Regions from separate parts of the Homo sapiens genome. Here all the other regions are linked to region 2. The links are contacts of gene promoters, found by promoter capture Hi-C in human tissues and cell types (Jung and others, 2019). All regions are on one chromosome and are shown on one strand. The core of a region is centred on a gene start or on the middle of the fragment in contact, and the rest is flanking DNA. Distances in the headings are between cores, read along the strand shown.

Evidence for each region. The method cuts DNA at HindIII sites, captures the fragments that hold promoters and counts their contacts. A contact is called where the count stands out against the background at its distance.
Region 1: a fragment that was not itself captured here is called in contact with the fragment with the promoter of NRG3 in region 2 in 2 of the 25 tissues and cell types used here (dorsolateral prefrontal cortex and hippocampus).
Region 3: a contact is called between a fragment that was not itself captured here and the fragment with the promoter of NRG3 in region 2, in 3 of the 25 tissues and cell types used here (dorsolateral prefrontal cortex, heart left ventricle and hippocampus).

What each region holds. Positions count from the first base shown.
Region 1 is chr10:82,262,986-82,265,926 of GRCh38, reverse strand. All of the region lies in intron 1 of NRG3 (neuregulin 3), which reads right to left. Among named protein-coding and RNA genes, the nearest start is that of NRG3-AS1, 32 kb to the right of the region's middle. The HindIII fragment of the contact is 4,021 bases long and covers 1-2,941 here.
Region 2 is chr10:81,873,843-81,877,227 of GRCh38, reverse strand. It overlaps NRG3 (neuregulin 3), which reads right to left and starts at 2,034. Exons shown (of 9, transcript NM_001010848.4): 1 at 1,065-2,034. The coding sequence starts at 1,887. It overlaps LOC124902549 (a long non-coding RNA gene), which reads left to right and starts at 2,710. Exons shown (of 2, transcript XR_007062377.1): 1 at 2,710-2,879. RefSeq lists an enhancer at 323-1,085. The HindIII fragment of the contact is 10,350 bases long and covers 1-3,385 here.
Region 3 is chr10:82,148,806-82,152,125 of GRCh38, reverse strand. All of the region lies in intron 1 of NRG3 (neuregulin 3), which reads right to left. Among named protein-coding and RNA genes, the nearest start is that of NRG3-AS1, 82 kb to the left of the region's middle. The HindIII fragment of the contact is 4,871 bases long and covers 1-3,320 here.

The DNA.
Region 1 (2,941 bases), core at 216-2,715, 390 kb before region 2:
CACATGCCACAAGTCTTGGAGTTTGTATAGGGACAATTCATGCTCCGAATTGTTACTTCCAAGACATTTTCCTTCTTTTCTTCTTCATACCCTAAAATGCAAAACTTCACTATCAATGAATGCTTCTGGTTTCCATCATTTACAGTCTTCTGATAGCCTCCCCACCACCATCCTCTGATGATATTGGCATCTGGCATTGATTTTAACATAAGGCTACTGCCATAATTGTTGGTGATGTCAGTAAGCATGTAGATGGTCCAACCATGAAAATGGTTTCTCAGTTTGTTAACCAGCCATTCTCCAATGTTCATGTCCTATATTTTACCTTAATTAATCATACTTCAGAACTCATCGTTATCTATTATTACGCCACATCCAAAAATAACAATTTCAGACACTTTACTACCTTGTAACTTTCAAGCTTTCTTACCCTAGTATATTCACTGTCACTTTAGTTGTTTCTTGACCTCTTGGGATCTCCAATCCATTGACTATAATACATTACAGTGCCATCGTCCATAACCTTCCTCGTGCTCTCATTTTCTTTCTTAGCTGATTTAGATTTCATTTCCCATCATTATAATACCTTACATAAATCCAGTTGAACATCCCCACACTTCTGTCCTTCCATTGTCAAAATCCCAAGTTGGGTTTCAGCAGATCTCTGTCACCTCCTTACATGTATCATGATGCAGATAAAAACGAATGACTCTGCTGACTGGTCTTACTATAAATTTATAATTAGAGCCCTCAAGTGAGTTCTTGGCACTGGCGGCCCCAATTTTGGTGGTTAATTTACTATCTTATTATCAAGGGTGACTTTCTCACACCTTTTATTCTCTCCCCACATCTCTGGCACTACATACACACACACCCCTCATTCTCACCTAGTTAACTTGCTGAGAGAACTTCCTTAGCCTTCTACCACCAAGTCAACCCACTTCACTTCATCTGTAGCAGAATATGCTATCTTGCCTCCTGATCAAGTGAAAGGCAAGACTTGTTTGTACTCACTGGCTCACTTCCCTCCCTTCTCTCTTTTGTACCCATTCCAGGCAGGCTTTTATTTCACAAAGCTCAAAGTCATTCTCCTTAAGTGTCCAACAGGCAATTCTCAGTTCTCATTTTACCTGACCTCTCAGTGGCACTTGTCATGATTGATCCCTCCATTCTTGAAATATTTTCCCGCCTTGGCCATTAGGATGTCCTCATTTTCTGATTTCTCTCCCTGCCTGTGGCTTCTTTCCCTGCTCCTTCATTGGCAACATTGTTAAATCTTCCTTTTCCCGACTTTTAAAGATGATGTGCCTCAAAGTTCAGTCATTCTTCCCTTTACTCCATGTACACATACGCCTTTGGTGAGCTTATCCAGTCTGTGGGTTTAAATAACATTTCCACAACAAGGATTATATGGTTTGGCTCTGTGTCCCCACCCAAATCTCACCTTCAATTGTAATAATCCCCATGTGTCAAGGGCAGGACCGGGTGGAGATAATTGAATCGGGCGGGGCGGGAGTGGGGGTCGCAGTTTCCCCCGGGCTGTTCTCATGATCACTAGTGAGTTCTGAGACCTAATGGTTTTATAAGGGGTTTCCCCCTTGCTCAGCACTCATTCTTTCTCCTGCCACCCTGTGAAGGGTGCCTTCGGCCATGATTGTAAATTTCCTGAGGCCCCCCAGCAATGTGGAACTGTGAGTCCATTAAACCTCTTTACTTTATAAATTACCCAGTCTCAGGTATGTCTTTATTAGCAATGTGAGAACGAACTAATACAAAGGCTCTACGTTTTTTAACTCCAGCCCCTATTTCTCCCCTGAGTTCCAGACTCACATATCCAATGCCTATGTGACATTTTCTCTTCGTTGCCCAGTAAGCATCAGTCATCACATCTGGGGAGATGATTTACCCACATGCCCAGGAAAAGCAAAATAACAACAACAAAAAAATAAACAAAGCCCCTCTGAGTTAACTTTGACTCATTTATTCTGCCACTCATCATGTGCAAACCATCAGTATATCCTAACTTTAACTTAAACTGGATTTTAAATATAAACCATCACTTTAAAAGCAACAACATTTGCTAATGGATGCATCACCTTTATTTAGCAAAAATTTTGGTGTTATCTGTATTTGGCTTGTGAATACTAGTGCTCTTGGAGTTTCTTATTGAAATAAATGGCTACATGTCATCCCTTGGGAAAGGGAAGGTTAAATTATACATCTCGACTATGGAAAAATTTATACAATTTTAGGTAAAGACGTAAATCCTGGAAAAACAGGTGTAAGTGTGTATATGAGTGTGTGTGTGTGGTGTGTGTGTATGTAGTATAAAAAGAAAAGATTATAGGTTATTCTTGAGTAGTCAGAGTAAAATGCTCTGCCAAATGTTATTTTGAACATTTTTACTATATCAGTTCAGCAAAATTAATGCTTATAAATGGTAGGAGCATAACTGAGAGAGAAAACCATTAGCTAAAGGCTATAATCTTAGCACACTGGAAGAAAATGATTTGGAGGATAAAAATGTTCAATAGAAAACTTAAAAGGTTTTAAAATGCTCCAAATCTCATTCAGAGTGCATGAACTTTGTGGATTTAGAGGCAAAAATCTCAGCCTTGTCTACCTTCTCTTGCCCATCCCTTGAGTAATTCAAGCCTAATTCAATCATCTCTATCTTGTATCCGTTTTTCTTTATTTTCTTCCCTCAGCCATCCACATCTTTCTTTCCCACTGATGTACACCCACCTCCTGTTACTGCTACTGCAAAAGCTTCTAAATTGCTTTATTAAGTCCCCAGACTCATCGTTTTGGAAACCATCTTACAGACATTAACAAGACAAACGTTGTTCTAGTGTCACTTTTAAATTTTATTTTATTTTTTATACAAAGCAGGTAAGGAAGGATGCATGACCTAACTGGTGTTAATGATCTGGGATAAGAC
Region 2 (3,385 bases), core at 785-3,284:
GGTGGGAGGTCAATTAGTCACCTACAACATTTATAAAAATGTTGAGAAAATACGCACTTTCTATACAAATAAACAGAAAGCTATCATGCTTTGGGTATACTGGCTCATACTGAGCCCAGGTTGAAGATGCTACATTCTAACGGTGACATGTTTCCAAACGGTTGGATGTTCTCACCCTTGAGTGCAGAAAACTCTCAACTCGTCTATATTTTTCAGGCACAGAGGGAGAGGAGATAAGGTTCACACCCCACCTTTGGGAACGGAACAAAAGCAAAGGCTTGGCAGGGCTGAAAAAAACTCCTCCTTCGTCAGGACCCTAGAGGTGGCAGCTCTGCAGGGCTCCCTTCATATTTCCTCCTAGTTAACTCACTCTCGGCGGTCACAGAATCTATGTCTACACCTTGGAATGGCCACAGGCAGGCTAGGAGGTCAGTTTAGCCCTTTGCCTTGGATCGCCTCCTTTCCCCAAGTCTCCCAGTGGCTTCTAATTAACCCTTTCTGGTTCCTGCCCAGGTCAGGGCTGCTGGAAGCGTCCTCAGCAACATTCTACCATTATCTCCATCAACTCGTCACCCCACACAAGGACATAACTTCCTTTTGTGGTTTATCGTCGGTCAATTTGCATGTGCTTTGCTTTCTTTCCTTCCTACCGGCGGGCGGAGAAGGGGCTCAGTGCCTTCGGGAAGGCCCTCTCTCCCTCCCTGGCCCTCTACTGGAGCGGGATCCGGCAGCTCGCCAGCAGGTCTGCAGTGAGGAGGGATCGCACTCGCGTTAACCCTTTGAAGGGAGTTGGGAGATCTGTTCTCACTTGGGACCCGCTAAAGTGGGGCCAGTGGAGCCTGACAATCTCCCTCCCGTTCCTACACGCCCCCACCCCCCCAGAACCAGAGCAGGCTGGCACCTTCTTCCCCGCTGGTGGCCAGTTTTAATCAGCTCTCACTCTGCCCCAAACCTGGGATGGGGGAGGGGGCTTGCTAGAAAACAGGCGGCGAGGGAAAAAGACAGCAGGAGGGCAGAAGGGAAACTCAGTAGTAAATCATAGTTGAGACACAGTGTTTACTTACGAAATTTGGGGCTGGTGCTAGTTTCTGGTGTGGTGGTGGTAGCGGAGGAGGAAGAAGAGGAAGAAGAGGAGGCAGCATCCTGAAAGGGAGACAGGGTCCAGGAGGGAGTAGAATCGTGAAGGTAGGAGGAGGTAGCGTATGCCGCAGTAGGCCAGGAGGGCATTGCCTGGGTACTTGGAGTTCCTGGCACCGGGGGTCGGGAGCCCAGCGTGCTGCTACTGAAGAACGGGGCCGTGGTGGACGGGACCGTCGCAGGGGCCGCAGTGTTCCGTGCTGTGGTGGAGCGCGGGCTGGCCCGGATGGGCACCCGGTGCCCGGGGAAGCGAGTGGGCGCCCGCGTGATGGTGGTCAGGCGAGTGCTAATCCGGTTGGGCGTCCTGGAGGAGGCGGCACCCCCGGCGGAGGGGGTGGCGGGGGACGTGGTGGAAGTGGTAGTGGTGGTGGTCTCCATGGCCTTGGGGAAAGAGCTGGGCTTGGAGAGGAAGAAGGGGTCCTGGCCCATCCCCTTGGAGTCCACTAGGTCGGTGGGCACGTACTCCTTGACGGAGCCCACCACGATCCATTTGAGAAGCATGAGGCTGAGCCCCAGGCCGATGAAGCCGATGAACAGAGGTACCACGCACAGCCACGTCTGCTGCCGGTTCCACACGATGCAGTCGCTACAGCGTAACTCCCGGGGGGGCTCGGCCGCCCCTTCGCCGCCGCCGTCCGGGCCCCCGCCCGCCGCTGCCGCCGCCGCAGCCGCCGCGGTGCCCTCCTCGGCCGAGGCGGCGGCTGCCGAAGCGGCACCAGGTGGCGAGGCAGCGGCCGCCCCTTCACTCATCCTAGGAGCCGGTCTTCACCTTCGCCCCCCCGAGGGCCGCGGCAGAGGCATGGGGCCGCGCGGGCCGGGCGCGGGCGCGGGCGCGGGCTCCGGCGGCGGCGGCGGGCTCGGGCGCAGGCAGCGGCCGCGGCGGCCGCATGCAAATCCGCTCCCTGCCCCCACGCCCCTCCCCCCGAGAGGCGGGCGGCGGGCGGGGAGGAGAGGAGCGGGGGAGGGGACGGGGCCGGGGAGGGGGCGGTAAGGAGCTCGGAAGAGGGGCGAGACGGGCCCCCGGCGCCTCCGGTCGGTCAGAGAGCGGCGGGGCGCGTCTGCAGCCCTCCAAGCCGCCTCCTGCGCGCCGGGTCCCCGCGCCCGCTGCTGCTGCTGCTGCCCGCCGCCTGCGTGCGCTCCAGGAGCGCCGACATCCTCGGGGCACCGCGCCCAGCCCGCTCCCTGGGGCGCCCGCTCGCGCCGCGCCTGGGCCTCGCGCCGCCTTCAGTGGCCCCGGCGGCCGGTCGCGGGGTGCCGGGTGCCCGCCACCCGCATTCCGACACAGAGGGCCTGCCTGGCCGCCGCGATCTTCGGCGGCTGCTCCGCGAGCCCGGGCGGTGAGGTGCACCTGTTCTTCAGCCGGCCCGCAGCCAACCCTCGGCCAGCACTCTTCTGGAGAGACCAATCCCAGCGCAGCGCGGAGGGCTAGCGGCCCGGCTCGCCTTGCTCCAGCCGTTCGCTGCTGCGCGCCGCTGCCGCCGCCGCCGGAGAGTCAAACTCCAGCGAACAGCGCCGCTGTCGCCGCCGCGAGCCAGGGGCTGGGGGCGCACCGGGCGCCCGCGGCGGGTGCGGTCTGACCCGCCTCCGAGGGACCCAACAAGCAGGCAGAGGATCGGAAATCACGCCCCGGCGCCCTGCCCGGTTGAGCGTGGGGGACGGAAGCGGGAGACTGCGTCGGGGGTCCCGGGGAACGCAGACCCCGGGCTGAGGGCGTCTCCAGACGGGCTCTGGCTGCCAGGCTGGTGCGTGTGTGTGTGCAGAATCGCCGCGGCGGGCTGGGATTCGGGCAGAGTAGCGCCTCCCACTAGCAGCTAATGCTGGTTTCTTAATGCACACAAGATAGATAAATGATCCAAGCAAACCCCCGTTTGCGGTGGGGTGGGGGGGCAAAAGCAGCTTCCGACCGATTGTGAGTCGTCTCCTGTACGGATCCAGTGGGGTCAGAGACTGACGCTGCTGGGCGAGGGGGCGGGGGCGGATGCGGGTGGGAGGGTGCCTGTGCCCTCCCCTGCCGGATGGCGGTGCGGCTGGATGGAAGGCCACCTTTGCCTGAGTTCCTGAGAGATGCAGGTGGAGCAGAAGACCTTTGTATAATCAGACCTGTCAGATATCTCCAAGCCATTTATGTGAACTTGCCTTAAAATATTGTCTTTACCTGTAAATGTACGCACAGGTACACACGTTACAAGGCAAGTGTTTGTGAGAGGTAAATATGAAAGGATTTGGGGTTGGACTCCCAAATTCCGTT
Region 3 (3,320 bases), core at 406-2,905, 280 kb before region 2:
GCAGAGTTAAGGAGTTAAGACAGAGACTTTGACTCACAAAGCCTAAAATATTTAGTTTCTTGCCTTTTACAGAAAAAGTTTGCCAACACCTGATTTCCAACTTAGCTGAGTATTCTCCCTGTCCCAGGCACTTATGCTAACGTATTTTATATTCTATCTATTTAATCCTCTTAATGACCTAAAAAAACATGTACTATTACAATTCCCCTTATACATATGTGAAAGAGTGAGGTCAATAGAAATTCACTTATTTGTTCAAACTCCCTCGACAAGTGAGTAAGGATTGGGATCCAAGTCTTCTGAGCAGAGCCTATGCTGAAGCACTACGCTACCATGCTTTTTTTATGGGACAGTGATCATCACAGGTCAATAAAGACCACACAGAACTCATTCAGGTGCTTTGGGGAAGTAAGACAATAAGGGAAAAAACAAGGCTCAGTTTGCCTTCTTCATTCATCAAGACCAGAGAGAATAAAGCTTTATTAGATAAAGACCACAAATAATTTAAATGCTACTTACAAATTACAGACGACTAAGTGAGATGGGACATCCAACAAGATGACATCAAGGCAGAAACAGGATGAATAATGGAGACAAGAGAAGGACAGACAGAGGAAACCAGAAAAGGAGCAGAGCAGAGAGGTTCCGATTCACAGAAAGAGTCCTGATCCTCATCTCCCATCTGATTCTTTTTCATCCTCGTGTGCTCTGCTAGGAAAATTTCTGTACATAATAAGATTTCAATGATTAGAAAACAGGCATCTTTTCTTTCATGTACTGAAAAATTAAAAGTAAAACAACATTTCCAATCATTCCACCTGAAGACCATCCCAAATTAATTCTTAGTCATGCATTATTTCAGTTCAAACTCCTAGTCACTCCTGTGTGCCTGGCCCTGACACTGGTACTGCAGAAGGCTGAGCAAGACCCAGTCTGTGTGAGTCCAGCTTCCTCACCTCTATCCTCAGCCGTTCCTCTGTTCCTTTATATCCCTCTCTGGCTTCGCCCCTTTGCTAAGCTGAGTTTCTGTATTTGCTTTCTGAGCACTTCCTGCTTTGGACCCTTAGCATACATTTTTGCCAGATTTTGCACAAGGAGATTGAAAATCCTATCCAGGCTTTCTGTACATGACTGCTTTGTCATTTTTCTTTTTTCCTAACAAGGCTCAAGTTTTGTCAAGATTTCCTTTTCTAAAATAGAACTACTTTACAGCACAAGTAGTTTTGTATTTTTCTTTTACCTATCCATATCATTATTTTGATGTAAACAATGTTTAAAAGGACACAGAAAATGTCCTAGGCTTAGAAAAAGTCTCGGTTGTGTGTAATCAAAGAGTAGCTCTAAAAGACTGGAAATTGTGACAGGCATAGTATTGGTCATCAGCAGAAGCAGATGAAAGACGGATATTTTACTGCTTGATGAAGTCACTGGAATGTCCAGGCGCCCTCTGCTCTGGAGTTTGTGGTGTCCGTTCTTGCAGTTTACAAGAGTCAACCTCTAGCAGCCCCTGGGCTTTGTTTGTTGGTTTGTTTATCTGTTTTAGACTGAGAGTTTTTTGCTTTGTTTTTGACTTTTTTTTTTTTTTTTTTTTTTTTGTGTGTGCTCTTTTTGCTTTGTTAATCAGCAAGGTTTTGAAAATCAGGAGATGTCAATTTAAACAAACAAACCAATGAAAAGTAGTCAAGACTGGAGGTGGGGATTGGGCGGAGTTGGCGGGGGGATGCTCTTCAGCAATGAGAGACTGTGCCAAGCTGGTGTAGCCACCAAAGGGGTGGGCTGGGTAGAAGCTGTCTCCTATCAGCTGGGCAGGAGCGCCCCCACCAGGTACACTGACATGTTTGCAACACCTGCCAGCTCCTGGGCACTTACCGGTCTTCAACACCTGCAAATGGGTGATATGTAAAATATGTGCAGAGAGCTGGCAGTGGCCTAGCCTCTGATCCATCAAATCAGACACCTTCTGAAGGGTCCCGGAGGCTCCTGGAGGTGGCTCCTGTTAATCCTTTAGTTGCTGGACAGTAGGGTGGTCCAGGGGTACCAGGGCTGGAATAGATTGATGGGAACAGCAGGGAGTCCAGATGGGTGCACTCCCCCCTGAAAATCAGCCCTGCCTATAAACCACAGCGGAGTTCCATCTCGTCGGGATTCCTGGCACAGCTGGCCCAGGGTGGAGATTTCCTCATTTAAGGACTGTAGTTAAAGGTCGGCTTATTCTATTCTATTCTAGTCTAGATCCACCCCAAGAAAACTGAATACAAGGTAAAATTAATGAGTGAGTCAGAACTGGGCTGTGGACAAGGGCTTTCTCATATCTGCACCAAGACAGTGTGTGAAACATGTCATAAAAACACTGTGGAAATATGCAGTCCATTTATTAGTCTGACATTCTACTGGGAGGCTTTAGAAAAAAAAAAAAAACAGAGCTTTCTAAATTCCCAGCATCCACTACAAGCCTGTTAATATCTTATTCAGAAAGTATTAGGCTCTGTTCCCATGCCACACATTTCTATGGAGGAACTTTATGAGAAAACAAAGACAAAAGTCTGGTTAGGTTTCAAAAATATTTGCTTCATTTTAATTGATTTTTCTACATCCAAGAAACGTGAAAAGCTCCGATTACAAGTACATAAAAACTGCTCACAGGCAATAAAACACATGAAAAAATGTCCAAAATCAACATCTGGAAATGTTGCAAAGCAATTAAATTTTAAATAATGGCAAAAACAAGAGTGAGGGCATCCTAGCTAATCAATTATATTAACTTTTTAATTCTTATTTATGGCATGACTTTGTCAATATAATCAGTTACTGGGTAGCTCCCTAATTAGGAATTTATAATGTATTAAGTGTTATTTTTATAACTGGATTCATGTAATAGAAACCCAAACAACTGGGGATAATAACTTGATAGTCTGCCACTTTCAGGTTCAAGCTGCATTTTAATTATATTTTAAGACCTCAAACTATCATTCATTGGGGTCAAATCTAGGCAACTGAATTATTTTTTATAATTCATATTTTATTAGGTAGGCTTGATGCTTAAAAAAAAAACAAAAACAAAAACAAAAACAAAAAAACAGGAATGTGAATTGTTTGGGTGAGGTCTGCATTCCTCAGTTGATTCCGGGTAGACAGTCTCTGCTGTCTTCCCTATCTGACTCATCTCACCCCCACCTGTGGTGGTTCACTCATTTATATTGCCAGTTTGGCTCCCTGAAATTCAGTGAGTGATAGGCAAGCAGGACAGGCAAGCAAGAAGTGTGGATGGTGAGATGGTGGAGAAGCTGAAGTCTAAAAAGGAAAGTCATAGAAATTGGGGT